2 separate regions of the Homo sapiens genome follow, and region 1 is linked to region 2. Evidence: promoter capture Hi-C in human tissues and cell types (Jung and others, 2019). All regions are on one chromosome and are shown on one strand. Each heading gives the region's core, a stretch centred on a gene start or on the middle of the fragment in contact. The rest is flanking DNA. Distances are from core to core; before and after follow the strand shown. Region 1 holds the start of CDK11B (cyclin dependent kinase 11B). Region 2 holds the start of CALML6 (calmodulin like 6).

Region 1 (3,786 bases), core at 1-2,500, 260 kb before region 2:
CCCAGTGTGGTGGCGCGTGCCTGTATTCCTAGCTACAGGAAGGAGGCTGCTAGAGGCAGGAGGATCACTTGAATCAGAGAGGTCAAGGCTGCAATGAGCCAAGACTGCGCCACTGCACTCCAGCCTAGATAACAAAGTAAGACTTGGTTAAAAAAAAAAAAAAAAAAAAAAAAGTAAGCTCTAGGCTGAGGCGGGTGGATCACAAGGTCAGGAGGTCAAGACCAGCCTGGCCAACACGGCGAAAACCCTGTCTCCACTAAAAATACAAAACTTAGCTGGGCGTGGTGGCGGGTGCCTGTAATCCCAGCTACTCGGGAGGCCGAGGCAGCAGAATCGCTTGAATCCGAAAGGCGGAGGTTCCGGTGAGCCGAGGTCGCGTCACTGCACTCCAGCAAGACCCCGTCTCAAAAAAAAAAGAAAAAAAAACAAGAATGATAAGTTGTAAGCCAGGCAAGGTGGCGAGCGCCTGTAGTCCCATATACTCTGCAAGCTGAGATGGGAGACCGATTGAGCCCAGGAGTTCCAGGCTGAAGTGCGCTTGTGAACAGCCACTGCGCTGCAGCATGGGCGACAAAAAAGAGTGATGGGTTCTGAAAAATGACCGCTTGAAATCAAGTCTCGTTTCTGTCATTCTTGTATGGTCTTGGGTAACGTAATTCACCTCAGTTTAGTCTTCCGTACAACCAGAATAACAACACCTACGTGATAGTATCGATCGCGGATTAAAGATCATCCGTTTAAAGGCTCTTAACTCAGGACCTGCCACTCATCAAACACTGCTTTTACTGTCAGAATCTGCTAGAAAGACCGCTTGGACTACGTGAAGCCACTAGCACACTGGACAGCTGCACCTTGAGACCGGGGAGATGCTCCGAGATGTGCTCGCGAACAAGGCCACCTGACCCGGGCACTGGGCTATTTCCTCGGGTTCAGTCCCGCACACTTGAGGTTCAGCCTGGCAGACGTTGGCTCCAGACAGCGTTTGGACCCGCCGCCTCCACCACCCAAAGTTCCGTGCGGGATGAGACTGTCCGCGGAAGCGAGGGTGTCGCTCGCCCCCGGGCCCGGGTCCGCCCCGCTCCGAGGCCTGCTCGGAAGAAAGACCTCGGTGCGCAGTTCTCCTCGCGCTCCCACACCTGGTCCGCCCAGTCGGAACTCACCCCTACGCCGCCGCCGCTGCCGCCGCCGCCGCCGCCGGTCCCGGAGCCAGAGAAGAAACAGCAACCGGCGCGCGCCAAAAGTATCGTCACTTCCTGTATTGGCGCGTAATGATGATATAATAGCCGACCTCCGGCCCAGAACTCGAGACAACGACAGGGGCTCGCTCTGTGCGGCACTTCCTGTGTCTGCGCGGGATGATAACGCATAAAACAGCGCTTGCTCAGGTCCAGGACGCCAGAAGAAACAGCCCGGTGAGCGCACTTCCGACTTCGGCGCGGGCTGTGACGCAGGAATCGGGACTCCGGAGGAGCGACGCCCACTTTTGGAGCAGTTTGCGCCTGCGCGGAACGCGTGGCCGGCTTCCGGAATCCTACCGGGACTTTTCCGGTAGCGAAGCCCGCGCCTGTGCCAAGGCTTGCGAGCAGAATGCCTTCGCGATGGACGCCCGCATTCCACCCCCTTGACCGCTGGGACCCCTAGTGGCGGGTGGGTGGAGCGCGCTCCATTTACCTGCTGGTTACCTCGTGAGGCGCCTCAGGTCTGTGTGTCTTGTAAAGGCCGATCTCGGAATTTAACTCTGAACCTTACTCAGAAACAGGGCAGGGAGAGCTCTTACGATGTGATTTTATTTTATTTATTCATGTATTTACTTTTGAGTCGGAGCCTTGCTCTGCCGCCCAGGTTGGAGTGCAGTGGCGTGGTCTTGGCTCACTGCAGCCTCCTCCCGGGTTCAAGGAATTTTCCTGCCTCAGCCTCCCGAGTAGCTGGAACCACAGGCCCGCGCCACCACGCCCGGCTAATTTTTATATTTTTGGTAGAGACGAGGTTTCGCCATATTGGCCAGGCTGGTCTCGAACTCCTGACCTCAAGTGATCCGCCCGCTTCGTCCTCCTAAAGTGCTGGGATTACAGGCGTGAGCCACCGCGCCCGGCCTTTTACAATGTGATTTTGAAGCTGACACTGGCAGTGGGTCCTCAAAGTGCAGACTCACTGGGTATGGTGCTTCCCCCAACTCCCAGGGCCCCACTCCAAACCCATGGATTCAGAGCATTGCAGGAGAAGAGGATAAAACGAGCAATTAATTCCCTTTCCATATGTCAGGTTTTCCTCTTGACTTGAAAAGTCACAGAAAAATGCTTTAGACATCTGAATCTCAGGAAACAAACAATGGAAGATAAACATCCGCATTTACTGGGCCTGAAATGGGAAAATGAAAGATGTGGCAAGAAACTGACAAGGGCCCAAGAAGGGCGATGGGTATCGGAATTTTTTTCATCCCGGAATGAAATGCTGCTTGCTTTGTGTACCCAAGCTCTTTTTTTATTTTTATTTTTTTGAGACGGAGTCTCGCTCTGTTGCCCAGGCTGGAGTGCAGTGGCGCGATCTCGGGTCACTGGAAGCTCCGCCACCCGGGTTCACGCCATTCTCCCGCCTCCACTCCATTCGCCCGCATTAGGCTCCTGAGTACCTGTGACTACAGGCGCCTGCCACCATGCCCGGCTAATTTTTTTTTTATTTTGGGTAGAGACGGGGTTTTACCGTGTTAGCCAGGATGGTCTCAATCTCCTGACCTCGTGATCAGCCTGCCTCTGCCTCCCAAAGTGCTGGGATTACAGGCGTGAGCCACCGCGCCTGGCCTCCCCCAAGCTCTTAATGTTGCTTCCTGAGTTCTTGGTAACTGGGGAAATCTCCCTATTTTTTTATTTTTATTTTTTTTTGAGACGGAGTCTTGCTCTGTCGCCCAGGCTGGAGTGCAGTGGCGCAATCTCGGCTCACTGCAAGCCCCACCTCCCGGGTTCAACGCCATTATCCTGCGAGCCTCAGCCTCCCGAGTAGCTGGGACTACAGGCGTCCACCACTACGCCCGGCTAATTTTTTTGTGTTTTTAGTTGAGATGGGGTTTCACTGTATTAGCCAGGATGGTCTTGATCTCATGACCTTGTGATCTGCCTGCCTTGGCCTCCCAAAGGGTTGGGATTACAGGCGTGAGCCACAGCACGTTTTTTTCTGTTTTGAGAAAAAGTCTCGCTGTGTCACCCAGGCTGGAGTGCAGTGGCACAATTTTGGGTAACTGCAGCCTCCGCCTCCTGGGTACAAGTGATTCTCCTGCCTCAGCCTCCCGAGTAGCTGGGATTATAGGCGTGCGCCACCACACCTGGCTAACTTTTGTATTTTTAGTAGCGACAGGATTTTGCCATGTTGGCCAGGCTGGTCTTGAACTCCTGACCTAAAGTATCTGCCCACCAGCCTCCCACAGTGCTGAAATTATAGTCATGAGCCACCGTGCCCGGCCAAAAATCTCCAGTTTACCCTTCCTTTGTGAAATCTGTGAGTACCCAAATGCAGCCACTCATGTCAAACCCTAACAAAATCGACCCCAGAGCCCACGAGGAGGGGGTGGCCTCGCACTTGCGCTTGATAGGAGCTGCCACAAAGGCCTTTCCCAACCAGAACTTTGGGTTCAGCCACTTCTGTGAAGAGCCTCTTTGCTAGCAACAGCCAGCCCCACCGGTGAACAAAGTAGCATGAACACCAGAGTTCCACAAGGAAGAAAACAAAGCAGTCCATATTTAACATTTATTTTACTTTGCTGAGCAAGAATCATAGACAGCTACTACCACGGCT
Region 2 (3,602 bases), core at 1,076-3,575:
AAAAAAAGTCGAATTCTTTTTTTTTTTTTTGGAGATGGAGTCTCACTCTGTCACCCGGGCTGGGGTGCAGTGGCGCAATCTCGGCTCACTGCATCCTCCACCTCCCAGGTTCAAGCAATTCTCTGCCTCAGCCTCCTGAGTAGCTGGGATTACAGGCACCTGCCACCACGCCCGGCTAATTTTTTTATTTTTTTATTTTTTTTAGTAGAAACAGGGTGTAACCATCTTGGCCAGGCTGGTCTTGAACTCCTGACCTTGTGATCCACCCACCTCGGCCTCCCAAAGTGCTGGGATTACAGGCGTGAGCCACCACACCCGGCCCCCGGAGTCGAATTCTTAAAAACAGAAAGTAGAATAGTGATTGCCATAGGCTGGGGGGCGGGGGGTGGTGGAAGAGGGCAGATGCTGTTTAATGGGGGCGGGGGTCCGTTTTGCAAGGTGAAAGGTTCTAGAGATCTGCTGCATAACTGGGTACGGCCATGAACACAACTGCACTTGCACCTGAACGTGGCTGAGGCAGCATTCTAATTGTTACAGGGTTTTTCTCTTTTTCTGTTTTCTTTTCTTTTCTTTTTTTTTTTTGAGATGGAGTCTCGCTCTGTTGCCCAGGCTGGAGTGCAGTGGCGCGATCTCGCCTCACTGCAAGGTCTGCCTCCTGGGTTCACGCCATTCTCCTGCCTCAGCCTCCGGAGAAGCTGGGACTACAGGTGTCTACCACCACGCCTGGCTAATTTTTTTGTATTTTTTTTAGTACAGTCGGGGTTTCACTGTGTTAGCCAGGATGGTCTCGATCTCCTGACCTCGTGATCTGCCCGCCTCAGCCTCCCAAAGTGCTGGGATTACAGGCGTGAGCCACCGTGCCCAGCCTCTTTTTCTGTTTTCTTATGGAGAATAGCCCTTCGGTGATCAGAAGAGACACAAGAAGGAAAATAAAGATTGGATGAGTCTCAGGTCCTAGAGATACGGGGTATGTCCGAAGGCCACACAGAGGCTGGTCAGCATGAGGAGAGAGGGTTAGAGGGCGAGGACCTGTTCTGCTGCTTGTACTGGGTCTTGGATATGGGTAGAAGCCTAGATGGAGAGGAGAGAGGTTGATGGTGGTTGTGGCCATGTTGCCCCTTCCTACGGGCGGGGCGGGGGGTGTGCCCTCTGCTTTAAGTTGGGCTCCAGGGGTCACAGCTTTGAGTTTCACTCGTAAGCCCATCAGGATGTCTGGAACCTTCAGGGCTGTGGCCCAGGAATGTCAGACGCTGGAAGCCTGGGAACGGAGGAGGCAGAGCCTGCTGTCCACTGGCTGTGAGAGTTGTTGGGGTGGGGACTTGTCCAGGGCCACGAGGCCAGTGCAGTTCTCTGTGTCTCTGTACCCAGCTGGCCTGTACCTGGAGACCCTGAGCCAGAACCCAGGATGGGCCCTGGCCTGGGTGCTGCGGCTCCCTCCATTCTATGCCCCTGGGGGAAGGTGCTCAGTGCGTGAATTGTTCCCTGCCCCAGCCCAGGGGAAAGCTGAGGCCAGGGAGCAGCCAGGATGAAGGTCAGGGCCTCCCTTGGCCCCACCAGACCCAGGGCCGCTTCCCTCCAGCCCCGGCTCCCGTTTGGCTGGAGGTGCCCTGGGCCATTGGCCTGCCCTCGTCAGCGTCAATCTTGCAGTCTCAGCAGCTGGCCTGGGTTTCAGCGGGAGCCATCCTGTAGCTGCAGGTTTGCTGGCAGGCAGAGGGTTGGGCTGGCGGGGGACACTGAGTGCCCCACCTGCTCAGACTCTTCATGCCATCAAGGGGCCAGTCGGGGGGCAGGTGTGAGTGTGACCCTGAGGGCCCTGACCTGCCACTGCAATCCTCACACTCTTGCCTGGGTGGGGCAGGGAGGAGCTGGACCCTGGCTTTGGGAGTCTGGTGGGTAATTAGACCCAGACAGGGAGGGCTCAGTGCGGGTCTGAGGAGGGAACACACGTGTGCAGGCGTGTGCTCCACGGTGGCATGTTGATACGGACCAGCCTGGGCACCAGGCCCCCTCGGGAGCCAGCTTTGCTGTTCTGAGTGGAAGGGAGATCAGGTTTCCCTGAGAAACCCCAAAATAGCCCCCAACTGTGCCTGGCTTCCAGCGGGCAGCCCAGCCCCCAGGCCCTGTTTTGCTCCCTTTCCCCCTTCACCCCCAGCCCATGTCCTGCTGTCTCCTCCCTGAATGGTGGACCCTCAGCCCCTCCTGTACAAGATGGTCAAGCGGTGCCTCATGCATTTGTTCATTCGACCTGTCCTGAGAGTTTGTGACATGCTGGCACGGGGCCAATGTTGAGTCCACCAGGATGGGAGGGTGGCCAGGCTCTGAGCCACTGAGCACCAGCTGGCCAGGATGGGTCTTCAACAAGAAATCTCACTGGTAAGTGATGACAGCATGGGACCAGGGTCCCATGAAGACCTGCTGGAGGGCCGCACCTCTGGGAAGGTAGACTTGGAGCTTGGTCCAGTGAAGAGGGAACAGCACGGGGAACAGCGTGTGTGAGGGTCCCGCCATGTCTCAGCCCTTTCCTGGCCCCCGCACTTAGCCTTCGGTGCCCATCTTCAGGGTCAGGGGAAGCCCAGGCCAAAGCGGGCCGGGAAGGGGCCCTGTGGATAAGGCCGAGAGCCTGTCCCAAAATAGGGCCGGCAGGATTTCCCACCCATAAAAGGCTCTTGGAATCTGGACCCCGGGGACCCCAGGCAGCCAGGCCCAGCTAAAACTCAGCTGCCACCACTGCCCCAGCACTCTGCCCACAGCAGCCCTGGTGTCACCACCCTGCAGAATCCTGTCAGACAACCACCGACATGGTAAGGCTGCTCTCTGTGCCCGATGGAGTCTCTGGTGGGCTGGCTGGGTAGGTTGAGCTGGAACCTGGAGGTGCAATGACCTGCCACGGAGCCTGGGCAGGAAGGGGCTGAGGTAGAAGAGGGGGCCAAGCCCTGCTGCCACCAACACAGCCCTTGTTCCGGGGCCAGGGTGGAGCAGCCCTTTCTGAAAGCTGGCTCCCAGATGGGCAGCAGCAGTGGTGGCAGGCAGGTGTGGCCCGGTGCTGGACTCTCCCTCCGGAATGCCACACAGGCTGGAGCCCAGGGTTCTGCTTCCTGGGCTGTATCCCAATCCTGGGCTGGAAGCCTTTCCCGGGCCAGGGCTGGGCTCCTCCCCACCCTGCTCTCGGCTTCCTTCACCTGCCTCACCTGGTGTCCATTGCCAGGCTCCAGGGCCGCTGCCTGGCCCGCCTGGCCCTGCAGCTGCTGCTGTTCCCTCGCACGCTGGCTCCTGCCTGTCTGGCCCTTGCCCCTGTTAGCTGCCTGGCAGAGCCCTGCTGGCCCTGCAAACCCCTGGCGTGTGACCCCTTGTCCTGGAAGCCTGCTCTCCGCTGGGGGCCTCCTCTCTTACCACTCACCTTGAAAGGCTGCCAATGGAGGAATGGGTGCAGGGGGTACCTCTGACCCTTCCCTGGACACAGGGGCAGAAGGGGCTCCTGGTCAGGCCGGTGCGGGTGTCCCCTGCAGACAGAGCGCCTGTCGGCTGAGCAGATCAAGGAGTACAAGGGAGTCTTTGAGATGTTCGACGAAGAGGGCAACGGGGAGGTGAAGACGGGGGAGCTG

Evidence for each region. Contacts are between HindIII fragments. The study calls those that stand out against the background at their distance.
Region 1: the fragment with the promoter of CDK11B here is called in contact with the fragment with the promoter of CALML6 in region 2 in 2 of the 25 tissues and cell types used here (liver and spleen).

What each region holds. Positions count from the first base shown.
Region 1 is chr1:1,657,754-1,661,539 of GRCh38, forward strand. CDK11B (cyclin dependent kinase 11B) reads right to left here and starts at 1,251. Exons shown (of 20, transcript NM_033486.3): 1 at 1,161-1,251. It overlaps SLC35E2B (solute carrier family 35 member E2B), which reads right to left. Exons shown (of 10, transcript NM_001290264.2): 10 at 3,725-3,786. RefSeq lists enhancers at 1,094-1,816, 1,248-1,337, 1,358-1,637. The HindIII fragment of the contact is 36,520 bases long and covers 1-3,786 here.
Region 2 is chr1:1,912,935-1,916,536 of GRCh38, forward strand. It overlaps CALML6 (calmodulin like 6), which reads left to right and starts at 2,326. Exons shown (of 6, transcript NM_138705.4): 1 at 2,326-2,373; 2 at 2,751-2,801; 3 at 3,507-3,602. The coding sequence starts at 2,347. RefSeq lists an enhancer at 1,147-1,833. The HindIII fragment of the contact is 17,409 bases long and covers 1-3,602 here.